7 separate regions of the Homo sapiens genome follow, and regions 1, 2, 3, 5, 6 and 7 are each linked to region 4. Evidence: promoter capture Hi-C in 16 types of primary human blood cells and fetal thymus (Javierre and others, 2016). All regions are on one chromosome and are shown on one strand. The core of a region is centred on a gene start or on the middle of the fragment in contact, and the rest is flanking DNA. Distances in the headings are between cores, read along the strand shown.

Region 1 (3,509 bases), core at 899-3,398, 350 kb before region 4:
TCGAGACCAGCCTGGCCAACATGATGAAACCCCGTCTCTACTAAAAATACAAAAATTAGCCGACGTGGTGGCAGGCACCTGTAATCCCAGCTACTTGGGAGGCTGAGGCAGGAGAATCACTTGAACCCAGGAGGCAGAGGTCACAGTGAGCCAAGACCATGTCATTGCACTCCAGCCTAGGCAACAAGAGCAAAACTCCATTTCAAAAAAAAAAAAAATAGCGGGAATAAATACCCTGACCTCCCTCTCCTCCCTTCCTCTCATCTCCAGCTGGGCCTCTCCATTGGCCAAACCCAACCTGAAGCCAGAAGCACAGATTGTTGTTAATTAAGGCTGTAGTGGTTATCTTCCTGTAAAGAGCAGGGTGGGAAAGGGTAGGGAATGGAAGATATCCAGCATAGGAAATCCAGTTTCCAGGGAATTCTGCTTTTTTTCAGTGAGGTTTCCCTATAAATTACATCCACGGATATCTCTTCTAGCAGGACCAGATTTTCCATGCTGTGGTCAAGCACATCTTATGGCTTATAGCACACATCTCTTCAATCTTAGTGCATATTGGGCGCGCTTTTCTCCTTCCTGTCGTCCTGTGAATCTTGGCCTCCCCTTCTCACTGCATATTCCTTAAGTGGCACGGGTCATTCTTGTGCAGGAATTGAGGGATTGATCTGTGGCTCTGAATCCGTGTTTGATTCTTGCTGTCAGAACCTAAAATCTCTTAATTTTTCCCACTTCTCTCCCTCTCTCCTACCACCATCCTGTAATATTACAGCAGGAAGCTTTAATCACAATTCAGCATCCTCTTTTTATCCCTGTGGCTGCATTCCTGCAAACGTCTCTCTGTTTTGGTAGCATGTGGCCTTGACCTAGGGTTTCAGTGCTTGTCTGGTAGCCAGCCCTGCAGCAGCAGGTCCAGCTCCAGGAAATCCTGTCTCCATAGCTAAGGCCAAAAGGAGAGGGAGTGGGGACCCAAATCAGCCCAGGGTATCTGCCTCAGTCCACCTCACCCCTTCCTGGAGACACTGGTTTCTTAATAAATCACGTGTCCTTCAAGGCTGGATTAAATATCAGTTTCCAGCCTGGGTCACATAAGGAAGTTTGGGGTTTTTTTGACATCAGTCCCTGAGCTCACTGCACAGGGTACATGGCCTCATTTTTCACTGACTGCTGTCTTGCCACTCTCATTTCTGCTATCAGCACCTTGATTTCCTTTGAGAGACTTTCCCATCTCTACTCTCAGTTCAAGGAATTCCTATGTGGCGGACCCCACATTCCCAACTCCAGAGTTGGGGAAATAATCCAGTTAGCTACATGAGACTGGTACTTTCCCCAGAACTACTGGGAAGGTCAACATTTTCTAGCAGGGCTGATGATGTCAAGATGCAACTCTTGGAAGTCACTTTTCTACTACATGGGGAGAGTAACTTGAGAGGGAAGCCAACACAGAGGAAGAAAGAGTGGTGAGATGGAGATAGATTCCTGGTGACTTGACTTGTGTGCCTGGATCTAGCCATTCCTGAAGCTAGCCATACTCCTGGTTTTCATATTTATGTGAGCCAATAATTCCAAACTCCCCTTTTATGGTTGGGCTTTATTTTATTTCCTTAACACACTAGAGATGAATTTCCATGATTTGCAGCCCAAAGAATCCTGATTAATATACCTTCTGAAAAATTCATTCTTAGGTCAGAATGCTGACCTCAAAGATATAACTTCCCCCTGGCTTTGGGGAAACATTCCAACACCATCTCTGTTTCAGCTGGATCGCCTGCCCTGGTAATTTGGCAGTGATGGAGAGGGAGGCTCACCTTTGGTTCTTTACATAGGGTAATGATTAATACCCAGTTTCAGCTGAGAATTGAATGGCCCATCAAAAAACCTGGGCAGGAGCTGGGCACGGTGGGTCACACCTATAATCCCATAATCCCAGCACTTTGGGAGACTGAGGCAGGTGGATCATTTGAGGTCAGGAGTTCGAGACCAGCCTGGCCAACATGGTGAAACCCCGTCCCTACTAAAAATACAAAAAATAGCTGGGCATGGTGGCACACGCCTGTAATCCCAGATACTTGGGAGGCTGAAGCACCAGGATGGCTAGAACCCCAGAGGCAGAGGTTGCAGTGAGCCAAGATTGCACCATTGCACTCCAGCCTGGGTGACAGAGTGAGACTCTGTCTCAAAAAAAAAAACAAAAAAAAACAAAAAACCCTTGGGCAGGATCCTAAAATGCAGCCTAGGTGTGTGCCTCCATTTATACCCCTCGCCAAAGAGCAAGACTCAACATTTCTCTTAGAATTGCCCCAAAGTAAATCTTTACCTCAAGGCCTTAGTGAGGAATGGTTATTGTATTGTAGATTCCTGTCTAGAGATGGAGTAGTGTTTTACATCAAACAGTCCACAGCAACTCTCTCTCCTCTCAAGCAACCCCAGGCTCCTCTCCTCACCAGTGAACCCCACCTCCACCTTTCCTGCCCTCTCCCCACACTACTTTTTTTATAGCACAATTAGCTCTGGGGTTCTCTTCCTTACCCGTGATATATAAGGCTGTGATCTAGCATAGGAAAGGCCATCACCCTGACCCTGAACAAGACTTCGTTCTCAGCAAACCAAAAACCTGCAACCTACCTAGGTATATTTTCCTTAGAAGGCATGGAGGAAATTGTAAATTTTCTTGTGATTATGGTAGTATCATTATATAATTTCAGATCTGAATTTTTGTTATATATGAGAAAAATGACTTGATTTTTAAATCATTGTACATTACATAGATGTCAAATTACAATATAAAATGATTTTTATATTGTAAAAATTATAAAATATACAACATAAAAATTATAAATATACAATATAAAATATATAATTTTATATTGTAAAATTTTGTATATTGTATGTATTTATAATTATAATATCAAATAATTTTTTAAATTATGTACCCAGAAGGAAAAATATTAATTTGAAGTCATATTTTTTCCAGCTTTACTGAGGTATAATTGAGAAATAAAATGTATATATAATCAAGGTGTACAATGTGATATTTTTACATAGGTATACATTGTGAAATGCTTACCACAATCAAGCTAATTAACATATTCATCACTTTACAGAATTACCTACATTTTCTGAAACATATTTTTTTCCTGTCGTGTGTTATAATTCTTCAGAACCAAATATATACCACACTGCTAAATCACCCCTTAACTGGAGATCAGTTTATGCAAATTACCCAGAGTCCTTTTAACACATTATTTTTCTGCTTAAATTGGTCATTTTTTGCTGTCACTTGCTCCCACAACCCTACAGATGCAGTGGATCCCTCCTGTCCCTTGCCCTAGCTCAGCTTCTGCTTTCTCATAGCCTGCACTGACTCAGGCAGCTACCCACTCCCTCTTTTCTGAGTCTTCCTGCCTCATCTCCTGTTTCCAACAGCTTAGCTTCCTCCTCAGATCTCAGGTTCAAATTCCTCAGAGGAATGAATGGCTGGCCCAACTTAATCCCTGTCTTCCAGTTTGGGC
Region 2 (3,773 bases), core at 681-3,180, 340 kb after region 4:
GCAGTAGAAATTACTGGCTTTATTTTTTCAAAGTTAACATTATTATTGTTTTTAAGGGTGACATTCTGAAACACCTTAGAGCTTGGAATCAGCACTTCATCTTCACGTGGGCCAAAAGCATATCTCTAATAGAAACTTCTAAGAAGGTTCTGATGACAAGGACTGAGGCTTTCTATTAAAATATGGTGTGTATGAGTAGCTATTTGTTGAGGGAAAAAAATACAAGGAAAATTGGCCAAAATTGCATTGCCTCTCCCATGGTAATGAAACTTGGTGCAACAGCCTCTATAAATGATGTAACACTGCCCTGTAGTGAGAAGTTGAAGAGCTCTTGTCAAATAATAAGAGAAAGCTTTAAACTGAAAGTTTTGTAAAATTTGGAGGAATTCTCTTACAGTCCTGCTAATAACCCTGGCACTGTATACCCAGTACAGGCCACTAGAGCTGTTCTGTGGAAATCGTTGAATTGTTTATTTTGGTTTGGTTTGTTTGTTTCCCCTCTGCCCTTTCACATTCAGTTTTAAATTTTTTGTTTGCTTTCAGTTTCTCTCTCTCTTTTTTGTTTTTTTAATTTGAGACAGGGTCTTGCTCTGTTGCCCAGGCTGGAGTGCAGTGGTGTGATCTCAGCTCACTGCAGCCTCAACCTCCCGGGCTCAATCAATCCTCCTGCCTCAGTGTCCCATGTAGCTGAGACCACAGGCGTGCCACCACGCCCAGCTAATTTTTGTATTTTTGGTAGCAACGGGTTTTGCCATGTTGCCCAGGCTGGTCTTAAATCCGGAGCTCAAAGGATCCACCCACTTCAGCCTCTCAAAGTGCTGGGATTACAGGTGTGAGCCACCGTGCCTGGCTGAAAAATTGTGATTCTTATTTATAATCCACCATCTCTAACAGACCCTCATCATAGCTCCACTCCAGGGTCTTCTTGTTTTATAAAATATGAAGGAGTAGCTGTCAGTAGGATGAGGGTCCAGAGGTAGTAAATATTACCTGTACTATTAGCCACCAAATTGGAGTCAAAAGGTGATCTGTCATGTCTAAAATTGATGTCATCTAGTAGTTGAACAAAGACTTCACATAAGACCGTGAAAGTGAGGCCTGAGCACTAACTTCATTGTTGTTGCCTTATTTCTGTGCTAACGACCATCAACCACCAGTGTAGGGTCCAGAACTCCAGACTTGCATTTACGTCTGCATCCTGGACACCTTCCATCTTAGGTAAGTTCCAACAGAAAATTTCTCAATGGTGCGTGTTTTCCATTTCTTCCAGCATGGAGCTATTTTTATTAAACGATGGAATGTTATTATCATCTTTAAGTCTGCAGTCCTATATTCCACCGCCGTCTGACCTAATTCTGCCAGAATCTGGAGCACGGCAGAACCTGAGAATGGTCGACAGGGCCAGCAGGATAAGAGTGAGTATCTGTAGTAAGCCTCTTTGCTGTCTTTGAGTTCTCCTTGATCTGACTCCATTTTTAAATTTTTATTTTGTTATTTTTAGAGTCGGGGTCTTGCTCTGTCACCCAGACTGGAGTGCAGTGGTCCGATCATGGTTCACGGTAGCCTTGAACTCCTGGGCTCAAGCAATCCTCCCACCTCAGACTTCTGAGTAGCTGGAACTACAGGCACGCACCATCAAGCCTGGCTAAGTGGCTGGAATTTTTTTTTAAGAGAGATTTAAGCGAGGTGGGGTTTTGCTATGTTGCCCAAACTGGCCTCAATCTCCGGGCCTCAAGCAACCCGCCCTCCTTCAGCCTCTTCAGTTATTGGAATTAGAGGCGTGAGCCACCAAGCCCAGCTGTGACTCCATTTTTGAACTTCTTTTATTTGAGAAGTCTTCGTCATTTCAGAGAGTGATCATAAACTGAGCCTGTCCACTCCCCTGATACCTTTCCCATGTAACCCATAAAAAGGTTGAGTTTTCTGCTTTTATCCCTAGGCTAGACTAACCTTTCAAGGTCCTTCCCCAGACCAAAGGTTAGAAAAGAATTCCAACTTCTCACATTTCATGTTAAACCACATGTCCCTAGATTGTCAAGTCATACTTAAAATAAAATAACTGGGCCAGGTATGGTGGTCCATGCCTGTAATTTTAGCACTTTGGGAGGCTGAAGCAGGAGGATAGCTTGAGGCCAGGAGTTTGAGACCAGCCTGGGCAAGATGGCAAGACGCAGTCTCCACACACACAAAAAAAAGTTTAAAATAAAATAATTGATATACTGAAGATGACTAAAAATTAGAGTTTCTCCTTAATGTTTCTAGGAATTATGTTGTTCTAAAACATCCAGTAATTCACTTTCCCCTTAATAATTAGAATTAGTTATCCCAGCCGATAGAGTAACCCACATCTCTGCCTATTGGCTCAGCGGCATGAGGAAAACAAAATGGCAACTGAGCAGTCTTAGCTTCCAACTTAACGAGTCTGCAACTATGTTCCCTATTGGAAGCATTTTCTCCCTTAGCAACTAAGGCTTCTAAACCTGCAAGGAATAAGACAGTGGGGACAAGAAGCAAATATTCTTTAACTGGATTATTAGATGCATTCATGAGAGGGGCCTCTCTTACTCCACCCTCCTCCTTTCTATGCTTGTGTGTCCCTGCTGTAGAGAAAATAATGTCATATATTGGTTGCTGATGTAAAGAATGTACTGCTCTTCCATTTGTTAGGGTGCTGTATTTCTGCTGGCACCATAACTGACCTTCAGCAGGTCATTCTCTCAGTAACCATGACCTTCATAGGTGATTCTCTCAAGCCAGCTGTTTCTGGGTGATAACATATATCCTAAGGTTAACATAAATCTCATGGTATGAGCCTGTTGCCACACCTCTTCCACTATAAAATTAGCCTCTTGGTCAGATGTATGGGATACCATGTTGGTAAAGATGACATTCTTGGCTGGGTACAGTGGCTCCTGCCTGTAATCCCACGGCTGTGAGAGGCCTAGGCAGGAGGATTGCTTGAGGCAATCCACACGTGCTTTCCAGCTTTTCCAGCTTCAATGCTAGTCTCTACTCATTCTGACCACTAACCATGAAAAGAAAGGAGTTTGAACCAGCCTGGGCAACACAGCAAGATCCTGTCTCTATAAAAAATTTAAAAAGTTAGCCAGGCATTGTGGCATGTGCCTGTAGTCCCCGCTACTCTGGAGGCTAAGGTGGGAGAATATCTTGAGGCCAGGAGGGCTCATATTGGAAGCTACAGTGAGCTATGATTACAACATTTCACTCTAGCCTGGGTGATAGAGCAAAACCCTGTCTCAAAAAAAAAAAAAAAAAATGACATGGTTCTGGTAGAAGCATTAGGAACAAGGAAAAAAACTCTGGAAACATATCTATTCCCATGAGAGCACTTTCTGTCCTCAATGAAGGAAGGGTTCCTATTAAATCAGTTACCACCAGAGATTCCTGGCTAGTTTCTCTGGGGAATGGTGCCATACTGGGGACTCATCCTTGGCTTCTGCAGTTGGCAGCTGGGCACTCACTAGTGGTGGTAGCCAAATAAGCTTTGGTGAGAGGATATAGATGTTGTTAAGCTTGTGTGCAGCTTCCATCTCTTCCATCTTGACACTTTGTACCTGGTCCATTGAGCAACAACTGGAGGGGCTGGGGAAGGAGGCCAACTGACATCTGCACATCCAGTCATCTTGTCCACCTGATCACTGAGTGACTCATCTGCAGTGGATGACCTCTGTTGGGTATTTTTGTGGGACATGATTGCCTTCATACTCTATGCCCATTCCAAGAGGCCCATCTACGTATCTCTTCTCCAGGTC
Region 3 (3,739 bases), core at 1,078-3,577, 430 kb before region 4:
CACACGTGCACACACACAGAGACAGCACACACTGTGTGGACTAAGGTGGCAGGCTTTTAATTTCCTCCCCCACGTTTTACAATTGCTTTGGTCACAAAGGCAGGTCTAACAGTTTAATTCCACGCCAGAGAGGAGGGGACTTTTCATGTGGCTGCTGATTTGGAATTTGGTTCCAGGACATAAATCTGAGGACACATGGGGTAAAATAGCCCGCTTTCTAAAGAAACCTGGAAACAACTGGGGTAAGACATCTTCTCAGGGTTCCTTGCCCCAGCTCTCTACACACCCCACCTCACTCTACACGCTGAACCCTGGGCACCATGGATTCAAAGACATCTTTGCCACTGTGAGATCTCAGCCAAGTGTGGGGTGTGGGGTGGGAGGGGGACAGGCTTCCACATCCCCAGCAGGGTGTGCAGGAAAATCACTCAGGGAGACCAGGGTATCAGTCAGAGTCCCAGCAGGAAAGACGTTGCACACTCTAATCAGGTCATTTTGGGATAGCTTAGCGGAGAGACTGTTTTTACAAAGGTGTGGACTGATGTTTGGAGAGTTCTGTGCAGGGGGCACTGATGGCCCAGGAAGCAAGGTCAGCAAGAGAGGGCTGTAGCATCACCAGGAAAGACACATTGGTCCCTTTCCTCCCCACCCTGCCCCAACACCTAGAGGAGAGAGGGACCCAGAAGAGGAGTGATGAAGGTCCTCACAGCATGGGGGAAGAGGACAGGTGAGCATTCAATTAAGCAGGCGATGGAAATCTTAAACCTGACTTTGTTACCCAAAAGTGACTCAAAAGTTTGGAGTTTGCCAAATGCGCAGTTTATGGATGGGAAAGGAAAATCACACGTCACTGAGCAGGGAGCATGGGTGGGAGGAAAATCAAACAGTTGCATGTTTGTGCCTCACTGCATTGTCTCTGTCTAGTAAACCGGGAAAAGAGGTATTGGTATTACCAGTTCAATTTTCCAGATGAAGAAACTGAATTTGCAGTCCCAGAATTGGTGATGGCTGAACTGTGCCAGAGCCCTGCTCCTGCATCAGCTGCCCTGTGGCCCCCACCCTCCCCTTTGCCCCAGAGCTGCTGCTCTGTCACCCTGAGTTCAGTCACAGTCAGCGTGGGCTGCTATAACAAAATGCCACCGACTGGGTGGATTAGAAACAAGAGACATTTATTTCTCACCATTCTGAAGACTGGAAGTCTAAGATCGGGGTGCCAGCATGGTTGGGATCTGGTGAGGGACCTCTTCCAGGTTGCAGACTGCCAACTTCTCATTATATCCTCACATGGTGGAAAGAGGGTGAGGAGCTCTCTGGGGTCCATTCTGTAAGGGCACTAAACCCATTCATGAGGGCTGCACCCTTAGGACCTGGTTACTTCCCAAAGGCCCCACCTTCTAATACCATCACCTTGGCAGTTGGGATTTTGACATATGGATTTGTGGGGCGGGGGACACAAACATTCAGTTCCTAACAGCCACATTTGGTAAAAATGGGACTCAGTGGGGAGAAAGGGTTTAAGGTCAGGCCCCTGCACTGGGCTCACTCCAAGGTCAGAGCATGAGCTGCACCTCTCCACCCACACCACTTGGGCTGCTATCCCAGGTGCCCATCCCAGGAAGCTCAGTGGTGAGCTCTCACCACTGTAGCTCCAGTCCAGGAGCCACAGACTGGAGCTAATGAAGTTGGCTGAGGCAGTGGGAGCAGCCAAAGAGCCCTGGGCTTACACCTAAGCTTCACACTGACTGCTGTGTGACTGGGTAAGGCACAGCCCTCTCTGGGCCACCAGTCCCACTAAGCAGCCAAACAATCCCTGGGGTCCCTGCCAGGAGGGAAAACTCATTCCAACTGGTTGTGTCTCCCAGGAGTCTCACGTGATGTTTCACAATGGCCTTCAGGAGTTAAGAGCCCCAGGAAATGACATCAGGGTGGGGAGGTAAGGAGCAGGGCCAGGAGGTGAGGAGCAGGGCAAAGAGGCTTGGAAACTAGGGGCAGGAGATATTTTGGGGCAGGCAGGTCCCCCGCGTCACTGCTGGACAATGGTCCAGGGCAGTCATTGTACTGGGAGTGGAAAATCCTCTTCTGACTCCATCTGCAAGGGCTGAAAATAGTCCAGGGCCGTGGGTGGAGCCCCCAGGGACAGGGGGTGACTGGCCCTGCCTGGCCCATTGTTCCTGGCTGGGACAGGGCTGAGACTGACACCTGAGCTGGAGCCAAGACAGAGGCAAGCCCAGGAATTCCCCCATTGGAGGAGGAGTGGCCAGGCAGAGCCAAGTCCTATCGAAGATGGGGAAAGCGAGGCCCAGAGAGGGACAGTGACTCCCCCAAGTTGCACAGTGCATCAGGGCAGAGGAGGATGAGTTCGACTCGGGCTCAGTTCTCACCCCAACCCTTCACCCCCACAAGCACACCCCTCACTCTGTAGTCTGGTCACTCCTGGCCAAGCCCCACCCTCCACCTTGCAGGAGGCAGGAGCTCCAGACATCGCACTGTGTGGCTCTGTGTGGCGGCAGTGGGGTCACTTCACTTCTCTGGTCACTTGATGCTGGGGAGAAACACTGCCTCCACCCTAGTCCTCAGAGCTGGGGGCCTGGAGGGTCTTGGAAATGCCCGGGGAGCAGCTGTTGGTTGTGCCTTCACTGAGGTGGGGAAATTGGAACAGGGGAACAGGTCTCCAGGCCCTACAGTGCAGTCCAGAGAAGGCAGGCAAGTGACCTCAGGTCACACAGCAAAAACTCCCCATTTGCTGCCTGCCCTTGCCCAGCTCCAGACCAGTCCTCTGCTCCTAGATCTGTGGACTCTTAATGAAGTGAGAGGTGGCTGCAGAGCACCATGGTGGACACCCCAGTCAGGGAGAAATGGCTACCCTGCTGCCGTGGGAGGGTGCGAGCTCTCTAGCCTGAAGTGGCAAGTTTCTGAAGCTTGCTACTAGGGGCCCCCTCTTCCTCCTCTCCATGCTGCCCTCCCACAGCTGGGCACCTGGACAAGGTTCTGTAAACAGCACAGGCCCATGGTCCTGAAATCCACCTACTGCCAAGCAGGGCAGAGGTGGTCCCACACATTCCCCCAGGACAGACCTGCTTCCCTCCTCCCACACCCCACGGGGGTTCCCTGGAGACGTATGGCCCACTGTTGCTCACTGGCCAGACACACTGTCCTCTCCTTCAAAACATGTATCCCAATGTGGTTACGTACTAAGTGATGTCAACTCTGTGAGGGCAGGGCCCAGCTGATTTGCCTCCATAGCCCCCGGCCTGGTGCCAGGCATATAAATGCTGACCACACACCAGGCACTGTGAGGAGGACTTTGTGCGTAATAACGTAGGGAAGCCCCTCAACGCCCTGCATGGAAGGTAGCAGCACACTTTAGAAATGGGAAAACTGAGGTGCTGCAAGATTAGGTAACTTGCCCAAGAGACCCCAGCCAGGAAAGTGGGGACAATATTGACACTGAGGTGGTCTGGGTGGAGCATCTGTGTTCTCACATCCTTGCTACACTGCCTCTGTCATCTTGAATCATGCGAGGGGCCACTTATAGACCCTTCTGCCCTGCAGGGCTGTGAGTGTCGTGGGGCACTATAAAGGGCATGATTCTGGCCATCAGGTGAACCTGGACTCACTCTGACTCACCCTGACAGCCTGGATAACCTGGAACAAGTCCTCACTTCTCACGCCCTTCTCCTGTTTCCTCATCTGCTAAATAGGATCATAGCATCTACTTCCCAGGGCTTCTGTGAAGCAT
Region 4 (3,385 bases), core at 315-2,814:
ATCCCAACTTCCCCAGCCCTGGTGTAAGGTACCCCCAGGCCAGAATAGAAAGTCCTTGAGCAATTATCCAGCCGACATTCTGGAGGTTGGTGGTTTGACCCTGGAACACCCTCCCCCATCAACAGTCACTTCCTCTTTTCTCACCAGTTCCAGGGGAGGGTGGGGTGGTAAGTCCGGGCCTAGCTCCCTCCTCATCAACTTCCTTCCCACACTCAGTGCCCTGTCACCTTGACTGAGGCCCTGGGCCTGGCCTAGTTCTCATGAAAACCCCACCTCAGCCCCCAGGGTACTGCAGCACCCAGCAAACCTAAAGAAGGTCTCTATACCCAATTAACAAGTAAGAAGACTGAGGCTTAGCGATGTGATCTGCCCAAGGTTTCAAGACTGGCCCTTCAGTCTGATTTCAGCCCTCCAGATCTCTCTAGTCCCTCAGACTCACAGCTCCCTGGGTCGGGGCGGGGGGCAGGGGTTGGGGGGGCGGTGACCCCCTCCCTCAAACTGGACGGTTCCACTGTCTGTCTGAGCAGTGGAGAAGTGTGGCTGCTGGAGGTGGGGGCTGGCCTCGCAACCCTGAAGGTAGAGGACCAGCAGCCTGGAAGCTTGCAGAGAAATTTTCCTGGCTAAGAGCAGATTTGATTGTGGGGGTTTGGCCAAGATTAGCCCCAGTGAGAGAGCCGCAGGGATTGTGGTTAGACTTCCAACCACAGACATACAATCGCAGGCGGCCAGAGGTGCGACACACAGGCACACCTGTTCATCCCCTCTTGAAATGCCACACCCTATCCTGACCAGCTGCCCAGAAACAATTCTGAGAGTCCGACTTCGCTGGGCTCAGCCAGCATCCACCAGCAGCCCGGGGCCCCCTGATGCCCCCTCAGGCTGGGTAGGCTGACAGGGAGGTGTTCCATAAGCCTGTGCCAGCGTCGCCTGTCAGCGGCAGAGCCTGAGATGCACAGCCTCCTCCTTAGAGGTTCCGAGTGTCGCCCCTCTCCGGATGGGCCAATAAGTGGCTGCTCTGGACAAGTCCCGCGTTCTTTCACTGCGCTACCGAGACTAAGTGCACTGATCAAGCCCCTACCCCGGGGACTGCCCGGGTGGGGAGGCAAAAGAGACCCTGCAAAACCAACACCCGAGGACGCACTTGCGTCTCGGAAGCCCAGCTTGTGGGAGGCAGAGCCCGTCCTGAGGGGCGACGAGGGCAGGGGGACCAGGAGGGGCTCGTCCAGGTTCTAACCAGAGCCTGGATGGCAAGGGGCGGAGTCCTGGCAGTCGGGATGGGCGTAACGCACAGGCTCAAGGCATAAGGCACAGCGCACTCGGGTCACAGGCGGAGGAGCCAGCCAAACCCTCTCCCCGCGCCCGTAGCCGCGTCCCCTCAGCCGCCATCCTCTCAGCACCGGGGCGCACTCACAGGCCGGCACCAGCTCCAGGAAAAGCGCCTTTTGCGTACGGTCCCGAAGCCGCAGCTGCCGCACGATGTGGCGTTTCCAGCGCGCTGCGGGGGCACCGGGGACGCCCGGCCCCGCCATGGCCGCGCTCTCCCGCCTAGCGGCGCGTTCCTCCCGCCCAGGACGGCGCCAGGCCGGGGCGGGGCCTCGCGGGGACTCCGTGACGCCAGGGGGCGGGCGGCGGCGGGGAATCCCCGGCTTGTCCCAAGAGGGCTTTGGCGGGGAGGACCGAAGGCCGACGCCGGGAGGATCTGCCTCCGGGAGGAGCCGCCTCCGGGTCTGAACCGCCGGGGCCCCGTCCGAAATGTTCACCTAAGTGGGGGCTCCTGTGGCTGCGAGGGTCATAAGCAGGAGCGAGGTCGGAGCCTCCGGGGAGGCTTCCCCCACGCGGGTGGAGCGCTCCGGAGGCGGGGCCCTCAAGGCCCGGGTGTCTTAACCCCGCCGCGCCCGGGCCGAGTTCGAGAGCCGCTGGTGCTTCCCAGGCCGTCGCGCTCCTGGCCGCGCACCCAGCCAGGGACCCAGAGGCCCTCAGCCCCGGGCTCTGCGCGTACACTGAGGGCGCGGCGCAGCAGGACAGCAAGATAAGGAAGCAGAGACTGAAGGGAGGAATCCCCGCTTTCCGGGGATGATGGCGTTCGAGTTGGGTCTGTGAGGGATGAAATAGGAGTTGGCCAGAGGGAGAGAGGGACTCTAGGCCTCGAGAAGAGCACGTGCAGAGGTTCCGTGACACGAAAACGCCAGGTGGGTGCGGGGCTGGGAGGACAGGAGGCAGAAGGGTTTACGGCTCCACATGGTCGCCGAAATTTTAGGTCCCTGAGAGTAAAGGGGTGCAGCTGATTTCATCTAGAAAGCCCCTGGCCGGGAGGAGAGAACGAGCTTGCTTGCCTGGGGTTGCAAAGGAGTGGGTAGCTGAGACGGCCAGCACCCCAGCATCCTGACTCAGGGCCAGACGCTTCACCCCATTGGGCGGCGTCTGGAGGAGCAGACACATCTCTTGTGGGTACCCTCGAAAGTGAATCATGGGTCGCAGGGAACTGTGGTCAAACCGTCTCTAGCTAGATGCTAGAGAGCCAGCTCTGCAGGCTCAGGCTACTGTGAGACACGAAAGGAGGGACTCGCTGGGCACAGCCTCACCCTGGGGCATGCCAGCAGGCCCTGCCCTCTGAGTGTTGGCAGACTTGAACATCCCTAGGGAACGAGAGAAGTTGGGCAACGATGGGAGAGCAGTGCAGGCCCTGGAGGTGACGAGTCTGTTGAGATTCTGATGGGGATGGGTCAGAGGACGTAGAAAGCAGTGAAGGCCTAGACGCCCCCAGGTCAGTGTAGCCTGCTCTGCTTCCAGTGAGCTGGGCTCAGTCCCCCACATGTCATTGTCTTAGACGCCCATGGCCTTTGCACAGGCCGAGCCTGATGTTTGGAACATCGTCGCCTCTAGGGGGCCTGGCTCCTAATCATGCATCACCTCCTCCAGGAGAACTTTCCTGCCCCTACACTGAGTTCAAGCTTCTCAGACACCAGCCCCAGTTGAGTTCGAGTTATAACCGTCACCAGTTATCACACCATCCTGTAATCTGTGCGGTGCCCCTTAGGGCAGGACCTGGGTCCTAGATGTCTCTGTACCTCTAGCCCCAAACCAGGCCTGACCTGTCTCTTGAAGGAGTATTTGTGTTGAAGATGGGTGGTAACGTTCAGCAAAAGCCATGCCCAGGAGACAGGCACAGTACCCATGGAGACCCAGGGCCAGCTGATGACAGTGATGAATTCCCTTTAGAACTGGCGGACTCTTGGGTGCTTGGAGACACTATATAAATAAGGAACTCTGGCTGTGTGCATGGGAGAGTATATTAACAGGGCTTGGCCTGGCTGTGAGGTGCAGAGATGCCGTTTCTCTCAGGTAAGGAGCCATATTGGGGCAGGGGTTTCCTAATCCTTTTTTG
Region 5 (3,521 bases), core at 282-2,781, 490 kb before region 4:
TACCGCGGGAGCCTGCGGGGCTGGCCAGGTACGAGGGAAAGCTCACCTTGGCCACACGGAAAGCTCCTCCCACAGAGTCAGACATAGGCCGAAGTCCCTCCTGGGGACCTGGGACGCAGGGCGGAGAGCCACTACCCCACTCCCGGAGTCCTTCTTCTCTAGGGGCTCTTGGAGATGTTGGGGGCTCAGGGCTCCCAGAAACCCCTGCTGAGTTCATGCTGCTTAGATTTAACCCATCACTGTCAGGCCTGCAGTCCTGATCCAATAGGGAGCTTCCAGGCCTGAGCCCGGGCCTCCCTCCCCAGCGGTGGCCGCCCTCACCGTCTCGGTCGTCGTCACTGCCCGAGGAGTGGCCGCCGTGGTAGGCCGGACTCTGGGCTCCAGGCAGCTGCGGCGGGCCCTCCTCTTCCTCCTCGCTGGAGCTGGCAGCACGACTGCGGCTGACAGGATAGGAGGCGGCGATGGAGGAGGAGGAGCAGGAGGCCCGGGCCCCGGCCTGCGGTTGGGAGAAGATATGCCAAGAATGTAAACCATCCGCTGGACGCTGCGCCCGCTCCTGTTGCTGCTGCGGCCGGCGCAGCCTCCCTTCGGTCTCCGGCCCGGTCAGGGGCCGCGCCGAACGCAGACCCGCCAGGGGGAAGCATGTCCGAGGGGGTGGCGTCGGTGGCTGCCGCGACTCCCGAGCCGGAGGCTCCCACGCGGCACCGTCGGGGCTGGGCGTTCCTGGGGATTCAGAGTCGGCGCTGGGCCTCCTGGAGCCAGGACCGCCGAAGAGCTTGCGCATCTCGGTGACGCTGGGCCAGGCTCCTCGCGCTGGGCCCTCGGCCGCTTCTTCCGCGGCCGCGGGTAAGACGCCTCCGTCTCGGGTCCCAGCGGAGCCGTCGTCCAGACGCGGCGCGTCGAAGCGCCGGGAGAGCTGGCGAACCGACGGCGAGAGGCTGCGGAGCGGGCGCGGCTGCGCGGGGGCGGCCAGGGGCCCAGACGCCAGCTTGGACACGCGCCGAGAGGGCTGGCCCCGGGCAGCCGTGGTCGGCCGGCACGAGGCGCGTCGCCTCAAGCCGGGGGTGTCCGTGTCCTCCTCCCTCAGCCCGGGGCCGCCGCTCCAGCGCTCCAGCAGCTTGAACGAGACGCTGCGGTAAAGCTGGGGCCGGGGTGCCCCGTCCGCCATAGTGGCGTAACTCACTCCGGGGGGGCTGGCCTCGGGCAGCCGCGGCCAACCCCCCCTGCGCCCCCACTCCCTAGGAGCGCAGCGGCCCACGCCGAAAGCAGCGCACGGGAGTGTGGGAAGAGGACGCAGAGACCGGAGCAGAGGTTTCTCTGCCGCGGCTCAAGTTTCTGTGGCCACCGGCCGCAACGTCTCCATCCCGGGCGGCCCCTCCCGCCTCAGCGCCGACCCCCAGGCCCAGCCCCCGCCGCGGCTGGAGCGACCAGGGGCACCGCGGCACCGCCTGGGCGGGATCCCAGCGCTTGGTTCCTCGACTCTGCGTCCGCCTGCCCAACGCCCTTGGCTGCTCGCTCCTGGCACCCTTTTGTTGCAAATAAACTTTGCGGCAGAGGCAAGGGGGCGGGGGGCGGGGCCTCGCGCCCAAAAGAGGGGGTGGGCTCCGGGCGTGCGCGAGCCTGGGAACCGCGTGGTGGGAGGGAATCAGGGAGGAGCCGAAGAAGAAAAAGCCTGCTGGAGGACTTGCAGACTGAGGCGACCCTCTGGCCCTCCAGAGAGGTCCCTCGGGAGCCCAGCAGGCCGAGCTGCCCCCAGGGAGTCGCTGAGACACACACAACCGCTGAGCGTGCTCAGCTCCGCAGACTCGCAGCCAGGGCGCCGCGTCCACCGCGGGCCACCAGCCTCCGCGCGGAAACACCTCCTGCCCAGGGGCTCCAACATGGCAACCTCGGACTCACAAACTCTCGTACACACTGACACTCAGGTGCACGCAGACGCACACTCTCTGGGCCGGGAAAGGGGTGGGACTCGGCGCCAGGGAGAGCCCGGGGAGCCGCGGGCTAACTGAAGGGTCCGTCGCGCCCTACTCCCCGCCCAGGCCACGCCTCCTCCCCTTCCCTCCCCCTCCCCGCCCGCCCTCTGCGGCGAATTTAGCTGTAGCCACGCCCTTGTCCCCCCATCTCGCTCCCAAGCGCCCCGCCCATCCCACCTCCCAGCCGCCTGTCCGGCTCCGACCGGCCCCCAACCCGCCCAGCGTTGCTCCAGAAGTCCCACCCTTCACGACCGCGCCCCCACCCCTACTTTTCCAGCTGCCACGCCTTCCACCTGCCCCTGCAGTCTGGCGGCTCTTCTCCTGGACTCTCCGCCTGGATCCCCGAGCCTTTTCTTCTTGCTCTGGAGTACGCGGCTCTTGCGCCCCCTCGCGGCGTGATTTTCCCAACGCACGGAGTCCTGGACGGATAAAGCAGCACCCATCCCCCAAAAACGGAGAGTTGTGAAAACTTCCTTTCAGTCGTTACCTAATCCCCTTAGTCTTTTTCAGACCTTCGCAAAGCGCACTGCCCCTTCTTAGGCCTTATACACAAAAGGAGCTTCGACGGGAACGCCCTCGACTTCCCACTGCCAAACCTATACTCTTACCCGCAGCTGCTTCACCTTCTTGGCAGGAAAAGTGTCGGTTGTTTCTCTGGCTTCACGCTGATCCCTCGCTTGAGCTCCCCTCCCGCCCCTGCCTCCGTCTGAGTCTCACATTGTTCTCGGTATTGGGGCATCATCCCCTTCCGCATTCCCACCTGCCTCTAGATCCCATTCATCCTCCCGGCCCAACTAACGAATGAACGAACGAATGAAAATGTATGGAGTACCTATAATGTATGGGCAATATTATTTAACTTATTTTTTAAAATCCACAAACCACCCTTGGGGACAAATATTATTACCCCTTCTCTGTGGACCGTGAAGGAGAAGTAACTTTGACCACTATGCAAGTCAGGAAATAGCAGCTCCTGCTAAAATTCAGATTTCAGGGGCTTCAAACACCATGCTCCTCCAGCCAGCTCTGAGATGCACCCCCAAATCCTGATGAAGAAGGAGGTTCTCGTTCCTTTGAGCCCCCAGTCTCCTCCTTCTCCTCCTTGGGCCTGAGCTCACTCTCCTCAGGAACAGAGGATAACCTGGTCTGACCCATGCCCCTCCAGCGCTGCCCAGCCTTCTTCAGGCCTGGTCAAACTGCCCTGGCCCCTCCAACCCCCAGTAGCAAGGCCTCGGGGACACATAGTTAGGTCAGCAGTCTGTGCATTACCCAGCCAACCCCACTGCCACCAGGTCCAGCCAAGGAGATGTAGCTGGGCCAGACTAGGCTAGGAGACGGGGTTCAGAGGAGAGGGGCAGGCAGGAGGATAGGAAAGGATGGTAGACACCCAGGGATTGCCTGACTACCGAATGAGAGAGAGAGGACTCAGCCGGGACTCCAGAACCTGCTTGCTACTCATATACCCCACAGGATGAGGAGGTCACTCTCCACTCTCTGGGCAGCCTCTTGAGTTGTGGAATATCTCTGTAGCAAGAAAGTGCTTCCTCT
Region 6 (3,662 bases), core at 867-3,366, 410 kb before region 4:
CTACTAAATTAAACAGGCTCAGAACCACAACGTCCTGGACACCACCCCAACCTATCACAGCCAAATGCCTCCAGCTTCAAGAGGCAAGAACCGTGAGTTCAGGCTCTAACTTGGAGCCACCTGTGCTGTGCAGTCTTGGTGAAGTCAGCCCCCCTTCTCAGAGCCTCGGGTTCTTCAGTGGTCAGATGGGGAGAATCACTGCTGCATGGGACAGCTCATGAGGAATAAGACAAGGGGGCAGGTGGGTGCACCTTGGCGCTAGCAAATCATGAACTGTCCTAATGTGGAGGCTGTGTCTGCCTGTCACAACAGGGAGACACTGAAATTCAGGAGCCCATGACACTGCTTGGTAGGGAGGCCCTCCCAGGTGTTCCCCAGCAGAGGGACAGAGGTCATGGTCAGAGCAGTCAGGCAAGGTCCCTGGAAGGGGAACTGTGATAAGATTTGAGGAGGAGCAGGAAGGGTCCAGCTTGGGAGGAAAGAAGGTGGATGGAGAATCCAAGGTGGAAAGGGGGATGAAAGCATCAACCAGGAACCACATGAGCCTCTGATTCTGAGATGGCCCCTCCAGGTACCTCCAGGATTCTGAGTTCCCTGGTTCTCGCAGTCTAATTCCAAGAGGCTCTGGTTCCGGGTGTGAAGGCTGTGTTTCTTCAATTCTATTACTCGTTGCTCCTGATAGCCTTTGGTTTTGAGATTCTCAGAGCCACAGGGGTCTGGATTCAGAGTAATGAAATCTTAAATCACATTCCCAGGAACCACAAAGTCCCAGCAAACACTTGCCAATGCTCTGGTGCACCTGGCCTCAGATGGACCTTGTGAACTCAGACTCAGATTGCACTCTGCTGGGCCCTTGAGGAGTACCCAGTCAGGCTGAGGAAAAAGACACAGACATGGACCAAATCCACTTGGGTGAATAAACCATAACCAAGGCAAGCCCAGGGGTTATGGAGCACACAGCAACTCCTACCTGGCCTGGGGGAGGTGGTCAGGGAGTGCTTCTGCAGAGGAGGGGTCATCTGAGCTGGAAACTGGTAGATGATTAGGAGTTTGTCAGGTGGGCAAAGAGGGAGGAGGGCTCTGAAGGCAGGAGAGGCATGAGCAAAGACTTGGTGGATGAAAGTGTGACCTGCTGGAAAAAGGCTGGGAGGTCTTATACGGCTACTGTGGAGGGTGAGGTGGCATGGAATGTGTGGGAGCCTGAGGAATTCACTTGAAAAGGCTCAAATGCCAGGCTGAAAAGCTTGGCCTCTATTCTAAGGACACTGAGGAGCCATGGAAGGCTTAAGAGGGGAAGGACATGGTCAGAGTCAACCTTTACAAAGATGGTGCCACATGGAAGGTAGATGGGACAGGGAGTCTGGAGGGAGGGAGACCAAGGAGGAGACGACACATACGGTGGTGCCATGAGAGGAGCAGGTCCCTTGGCCCTGGATTTCCTGCAACAGCCCAGCCATGGCAAGAGTCCCCCTCCTACAAGCCAGGGCTGGGTGGCTGGGCACTCACCAGGAAGCCAGGTCGACACCCAGAGGCTCTCCTCAGACCTGGGGAGGGAGAGGCCACATAAAGCCCCAGAAGTCTGAGGGAGGTCCCTTTCCCTCACTCCAGCACCCAGGCCTCTCATTCAGGAGCTACAATGACAGTGACAAGGTACCAGGGCAGAGGGTCAAGGAGTTGTTCCACGGGGCCCAGGCTGCTCACCCTCCTACCAGAAACTCCCGCTACTCATCTTGGACCAGGAAAGACTCAGGCCTAGGAGATGGGGTGATGGGGTGGAGGAACTCCTCTGCTCCAGAACCAACTATGGCACTCCGTGGAGCAAAGCCTCCCCTTCTACTCCATGCCTACTCCCGCCTGGCCACTCATTTCCCAAAGACCCACTGGCAGCTGCTCTGAGCCCAACCTGTGGTGGCTGATGGGGACAGAGAGAGAAAGCAGGTATGGCCTAGCCTAGTCCTGCAACTGGCCGCTGGATGAGTACAGAGGTCAGAGTGGCCCACACAGCCAGCCTCCTCCTATCAGGGCCCAGTAATAAGGGAAGGCCAGGCCTCAGGACCCAAGGACAACCAAGAGGAGGTGTGGCCCAGAGGGTATAGCAAGCAGGCCTACAGAAAGCAGTTTGGGGAGAGGCGGTTTGGGTGGAAGGCATGAGGGGCAACCCCCACTCCCCTCACCAGATCAACAAGGCATCTCTGGTCCCGTGGGCAGGTCTGGGCAGGCGTTACCTTATCAGCAGTTGGGTAATCTGGCCACAAGAAAGCCCCAAACACAGGTTCCCAGGGCAGAATTCAAACTCCCCTCAGCCTGGAAGCCAGAGGACCAGGCCTAACCCTAACAGGGCTCTGTCTCAGATGGGGAGGGCTAAGCTGGCAGGTGGACTGGAGCCCCAGGTTTCACCTCAGCTTGGTGACCCTGGGCAGGATACAATCCATGCCTCTATTTCCTGATCTGCAAAATGGAGATACAATTCCTCCCTCACAGGGCTATAGGAAGACAAAATGGATTGTTGTAAATCGTTACTAGTGAAGCCATCTCTGCAGAGGGGGTGGGGGAGGAAGGCATTCAGTAATCAAATTTCAATAACAAGCACAATCCCTTGCTATTGCACCCATGTTCTCTTATAGTCTTCAAAATGGATTTAAGTCTACAAGTGTCACATTCCTCCTCTGAGCACTGCAGTTTAAGGCTTATAAAGCTCTTCCCTGGTCACTATCTTAATCCTCGTAGCAACTCTGCTCTCAAAGAAGCAAGGATCACCATTCTCAATTTACAAATGGCAGAACTGACACCTAGAGAGGGACAATGGCCTCTCTAAAGACTATAGCCATTAAGTCAAAGCTCTCATGGGGTCACTCATGAGGCCCTGGTGATACCCTCACACCTTCTTAGCTGGTCCTTGGGGGATCCACAGCCTTAGAGCCCCATGCATCCAGGGCAGGAGGGAGACAGAAACAGAGGAGTCACAGCCTCACTCCACAGCCCAAGCTTGGTAGTCATTTCTGAGGGTTGCCCACTGGGATCCCCAACCCCTCTGACCAGACTCCAAGACAGCCCAAGGCAGGGAGAAGAGGAGAAAGAGCGACAAGCCTTTTGTGCCAGAGCCTCCCCACACACATACTCTCCCATGCAGGATCTTACTTGTTCTGGCCTCCTTTTAGAGCCTGGCAGGGCAGGAACTGGTCATTCAACCAGCTGGGAACAGAGCTGGGATGAGATCAATTGCAGGTCCCCAAATTCCTCAGCAGGAGCATCTGAAGGCTCAGGGAAAAGTGTTTGGCCAAGGGGCAAGGGCTCAATTAGGGTTCAAACAACTCCTGGGACAGTTCTAGTGTTGACATCACAAATGCCCTGACCTCCCTGCACTTGGCAATACTTGATCCATTCTCCATCCTGCAGCCAGAGAGCGCTTTCTGAAATGCCGCTCTGACCATGAAACACCTCTGCTCATAAATTTCCATGGCTCCCTATTGCCTTCAGGATAAAATCTCTAGGTCTTTAGCCTGGGCACTCTAGGTCCTACAGTGTCCCAGATCACACTGTTCTGGCAAACTGTGCCACCCACTTTGATAACCAGATTCTGGTTTGCCCTTCTTTGTAGTGACATGGAGCTCCCCTGCAGCCGGGCCTTTACTGGAGAAGCTGGTGCCAGAGACAGGGGATGG
Region 7 (3,410 bases), core at 463-2,962, 380 kb before region 4:
ACCCCCAAGTGAGTCACCTCCACCTCCCAGGCTACATCTGACTCAGTGCCAAGGCCCTGGGGCTCCTCAGCTCTTACCTGGCTCCCAGGTTGGAGGAGCCAAGTGGGCAGGTTGGGGTGGCTCTTGGGCAGGACTTTGTGGGAGGGACTAGACCTTGTGAGAGGCTCATTTCCCCACAGTCCTCCTCAGGCCCTGGTAATGGTCCAGTCAAGGGCAGCCCTCAGAAACTCCCAATGGTGCGGCTGGGTGCAGTGGCTCACACCTGTAATCCCAGCACCTTGGGAGGCAGAAGCGGGCAGATCACTTGGGGTCAGGAGTTCAAGACGAGCCTGGCCAACATGGTGAAACCCCGTCTCTACTAAAAATACAAAAGTTATCTGGGTGTGGTGACGGGAGCCTGTAATCCCAGCTACTTGGGAGGCTGAGGCAGGAGAATTGCTTGAACTCGGGAGGTGGAGGTTGCAGTGAGCCAAGTTCGCACCACTGCACTTTAGCCTGGGTGACAGAGTGAGACTCTGTCTCAAAAAAAAAAAAAAAAAAAAAAAAAATAGGAACTCCCAGTGGTGCAGCTAGAGCTGAGGAGAAGGTGGAGTGCCTGGTGGCAGGCGGGGTGGGGGTACATGGGTCGGGGGTAGGGACATAGATTTAATTAAAATCACTCAGCCCATCAGGCCTGCAGGGGTCTTCTGTCAAGTGGCCATTCCCCGCTCCCCACTGAAGGTGCCCATCCCTCTGGGCTCTGTTTCTTCCTCTCATCTTTCCATTGTTATGTTATGTATTAGTTTGCTTATTGTCAATGTCTAGTTAGAACATAAATCCTGTTCACTGTTTCAAGATCATAAAACAGTACCTGGCTCAACAAGCTTTGTGGAAATTGCCCTTACTGCATTTCACCTTGTGTGGAACATGGCCCCTGATGCCACAGTCCCCCACCCACCCATGAGCATCTCAGCATCTGCCAGGAGACTGGCTGTGTGCAGAGCTTTGTGTTCCCCCGGTCCAGGTTCCAGTTCCCTCCTCTGATTACAGCCCAGCCTGGGTCCTGGGACTGAGAAAGTAAAAGCACAGGGTTGGGGCAGACTGACAGACAGTGGGTTTAGGGTGCTGCTCAGGGTGGGGCTCTCATCTGCCTGCCCCAGTGCTTCCACCCGAACCACACAAGCCCACAGCACCTAGACGTGGCCCAGGAGCTCAATCCCAGGCCCACACGGAGCTGACCCCTCCCAGCCAGTCGGGCTGAGGGTACAGCACTGAGCCAGAAGCTGATGACCTGTCTGCCTTGACTTGTGACCTGCCAGATCCCTAGGCCTTGCCGGGCCTGGCTCTGTCTGTCTGTACAATGATGGTTCTGGGCTGACTGGTCTCTGAGGCTTGCCAGCTCAGCCCACCCATGGCTTTTTCCTACCCCTTATCTACCTCTAAACCTCTGTGCCAGCCACTCCTGCATTACCCTGGGGGTACTCCTGAGCCAAGGATCTTAGACCCTCCCCTTCACCCTAGTCAGACCCTTTGCTGACCCTTCTCTGGGACCCAAGTCCTGGTCCTATCTGTCTTGGGGACCATAGGCAGTTGGTGCCAAAGACTGTCCCCAGGATACTTGGGATACTTTAAAGTCATCCAGTAAAATGTCATTCAGGGAAAATCTGTCCACATTTACCTGGCTCCAGCCCTCTAATCAATCCTCCTTTGGGACGCCTGCTCCCCTGACATGTCCAAAGCTGATGAACTCTTTATCTTTCCCCAGACCTGCTCTTCCTGTCACAACCTCAGCAAGAGCATCACCAACCAGCCGGTCACCTGGGCCAGGAACCCAGAAGCCACCAAGCCTCCTCTCATTTTCTGCCTGCCCTCCTCCCATCCTTAACTAAATCCTGGCCACCCCTCTGTGCTATCCTGGGGACTGTCCACCTCTCACCTTCCGCTGAACTGCCCAACTTCATCCTTCATCTTTTCCTCCTGAACCTCAAAAGCAGAGGGCCCTTTGACACTGCTGTCTGCCTTCAGTCCATGCTTCATGCAGCAACCAGAGAGGGACCCTGCTGGCCACACACCCAGCCTTGTCACTCCCCTGCTCAAAACCCTTCCATGGTTCCCACTGCCCTCTGGATAAGGTCTGGCTCCTTGGCCTGGCATTCGAGGCCCTCCAGGCTCTGGACCCTGCCAGCCTTATCAGCTCATCTCATGTGGCTGTTCGACTTGCAGCCAAGTATCCTCCAGCTCTCAGCTGTGGCTCACGATGTTCCCTCCACCTAGGAGGCCTCTATTCTTCCACATCTTTAGGTTCCTCCATCCTGAATCATCTGGAGAGTCCGCTCTGGGAATTGACTCCTTATTTAGGGAGGCTGGATAAACAAGGCTTTTCTCAGGCTGCATGTGTGTTTTTAGACTCAGTCAACATTTATCTATTTATTCAGGTACTCAGCCTTTCAAAAAGGATTTGAGGTGGGCTATTCAATATTGATTGTGGGCTACCATGTGCAGCAAAGTCCAGTGTGCACACACACACTCATTCACACACAAGGCCGGGGCACCATGAGAACCAGGAACCAGGCAGAAGCTTGCAAAGGCCTCATGGGGCCAGTGTGAGGATGAGGCACCTGGATTCAGAGGGAGGCCCACCTGGCTCAGGGTAACACAGACAGATATGGGGTTGAGGGTTCAAATCTGAGGTTTTCTGAGCCCAGTTCACAGGGCTGCCCCTGGAGGACTGAAGCCCAGCCCTGTCTTTAGAAAGTTCCTTGGTTATATGTAGAGAGGGGGCTCTGGAAAATTAAACAAAGCCCACCAGACAGCTCACCTCCCCACAGGGTGCTCAGTGTCCCATCTTATTTAGCCCCCTAGGGTCAGGGAGGAAGCAGGAGCTGGAGATGAGGGGAGGATTTGGAAAGACAGAAGGTAGTAACAGAGGCAGCAAAGGCTGCAGGTGGGGGAAGGAGACCCATAGCTTCCCTCCGTGGCCCCTGCTTGCATTTCCCTTCCCTTTCGCCCACGTCAGCTTCAAGATCTGTTCCTCTTTTCTTCTGCAACATTACTGGCTGGGGGCAGGCTGGGGCGAAGACTGTGGTAGCTGCTCAACCTCTAGGTTCTCATGGGAGAGAACCTAGGCCCCAGCCGAGTGGCGGCCCTGTGGGCACTGCAGACTCCAGAGTTCCCAGCACGCTTTCCGGCCCTTTTCTCCTCCTCTGTACCCCCAGCTAGTCTGTGAGCAGGTATCACCACACCCTTTCCGAGGGGAGGAAACCAAGGACCAGAGCGTTGGTGACAGAGGAAGGACTCCATCCCTTTGTTCTCAGAAGCTAAAATCCTCCCTCTAGAAAGTATCCCAGGTGTGGCTGGGCACGGTGGCTCACACCTGTAATCCCAGCACTTTGGGAGGCTGAGGCGGGCAGATCACCTGAGGTCAGACCAGC

The links. Contacts are between HindIII fragments. The CHiCAGO score rates a contact against its expected background, and 5 or more counts as called.
Region 1: a fragment that was not itself captured here is called in contact with the fragment with the promoter of ATG16L2 in region 4 in 10 of 17 cell types (M2 macrophages, megakaryocytes, M1 macrophages and 7 more); the score reaches 8.8 in M2 macrophages.
Region 2: a fragment that was not itself captured here is called in contact with the fragment with the promoter of ATG16L2 in region 4 in 1 of 17 cell types (M0 macrophages); the score reaches 6.0 in M0 macrophages.
Region 3: a fragment that was not itself captured here is called in contact with the fragment with the promoter of ATG16L2 in region 4 in 6 of 17 cell types (endothelial precursors, megakaryocytes, M0 macrophages and 3 more); the score reaches 13.1 in endothelial precursors.
Region 5: a contact is called between the fragment with the promoter of ARHGEF17 here and the fragment with the promoter of ATG16L2 in region 4, in 3 of 17 cell types (endothelial precursors, neutrophils and megakaryocytes). The highest score is 9.0, in endothelial precursors.
Region 6: a contact is called between a fragment that was not itself captured here and the fragment with the promoter of ATG16L2 in region 4, in 6 of 17 cell types (endothelial precursors, M1 macrophages, erythroblasts and 3 more). The highest score is 8.4, in endothelial precursors.
Region 7: a fragment that was not itself captured here is called in contact with the fragment with the promoter of ATG16L2 in region 4 in 9 of 17 cell types (endothelial precursors, M0 macrophages, megakaryocytes and 6 more); the score reaches 10.2 in endothelial precursors.

What each region holds. Positions count from the first base shown.
Region 1 is chr11:73,165,147-73,168,655 of GRCh38, reverse strand. The region is part of intron 1 of IUR1 (imatinib upregulated ABL suppressing lncRNA 1); the gene reads left to right. Among named protein-coding and RNA genes, the nearest start is that of IUR1, 16 kb to the left of the region's middle. The HindIII fragment of the contact is 2,739 bases long and covers 779-3,509 here.
Region 2 is chr11:72,475,456-72,479,228 of GRCh38, reverse strand. It overlaps the pseudogene ART2BP. Among named protein-coding and RNA genes, the nearest start is that of CLPB, 43 kb to the right of the region's middle. The HindIII fragment of the contact is 3,151 bases long and covers 355-3,505 here.
Region 3 is chr11:73,238,633-73,242,371 of GRCh38, reverse strand. P2RY2 (purinergic receptor P2Y2) reads right to left here. Exons shown (of 3, transcript NM_002564.4): 3 at 1-3,739. Among named protein-coding and RNA genes, the nearest start is that of P2RY2, 22 kb to the right of the region's middle. RefSeq lists an enhancer at 1,300-2,050. The HindIII fragment of the contact is 1,187 bases long and covers 1,734-2,920 here.
Region 4 is chr11:72,812,590-72,815,974 of GRCh38, reverse strand. ATG16L2 (autophagy related 16 like 2) reads right to left here and starts at 1,564. Exons shown (of 18, transcript NM_033388.2): 1 at 1,412-1,564. The coding sequence starts at 1,529. It overlaps LOC107984421 (a long non-coding RNA gene), which reads left to right and starts at 1,908. Exons shown (of 3, transcript XR_007062771.1): 1 at 1,908-3,342. RefSeq lists enhancers at 792-941, 2,952-3,081, 3,242-3,301 and silencers at 1,472-1,921, 2,322-2,411. The HindIII fragment of the contact is 2,352 bases long and covers 602-2,953 here.
Region 5 is chr11:73,306,286-73,309,806 of GRCh38, reverse strand. ARHGEF17 (Rho guanine nucleotide exchange factor 17) reads right to left here and starts at 1,531. Exons shown (of 21, transcript NM_014786.4): 1 at 1-1,531. The coding sequence starts at 1,168. ARHGEF17-AS1 (ARHGEF17 antisense RNA 1) reads left to right here and starts at 446. Exons shown (of 3, transcript NR_147696.1): 1 at 446-1,135; 2 at 1,243-1,925; 3 at 2,251-2,296. RefSeq lists enhancers at 1-536, 542-1,419 and silencers at 840-1,059, 1,290-1,619, 2,020-2,159. The HindIII fragment of the contact is 10,810 bases long and covers 1-3,521 here.
Region 6 is chr11:73,220,096-73,223,757 of GRCh38, reverse strand. The region is part of intron 1 of P2RY2 (purinergic receptor P2Y2); the gene reads right to left. Among named protein-coding and RNA genes, the nearest start is that of P2RY2, 3.6 kb to the right of the region's middle. The HindIII fragment of the contact is 1,742 bases long and covers 1,246-2,987 here.
Region 7 is chr11:73,189,119-73,192,528 of GRCh38, reverse strand. No RefSeq gene overlaps it. Among named protein-coding and RNA genes, the nearest start is that of IUR1, 7.9 kb to the right of the region's middle. The HindIII fragment of the contact is 1,694 bases long and covers 866-2,559 here.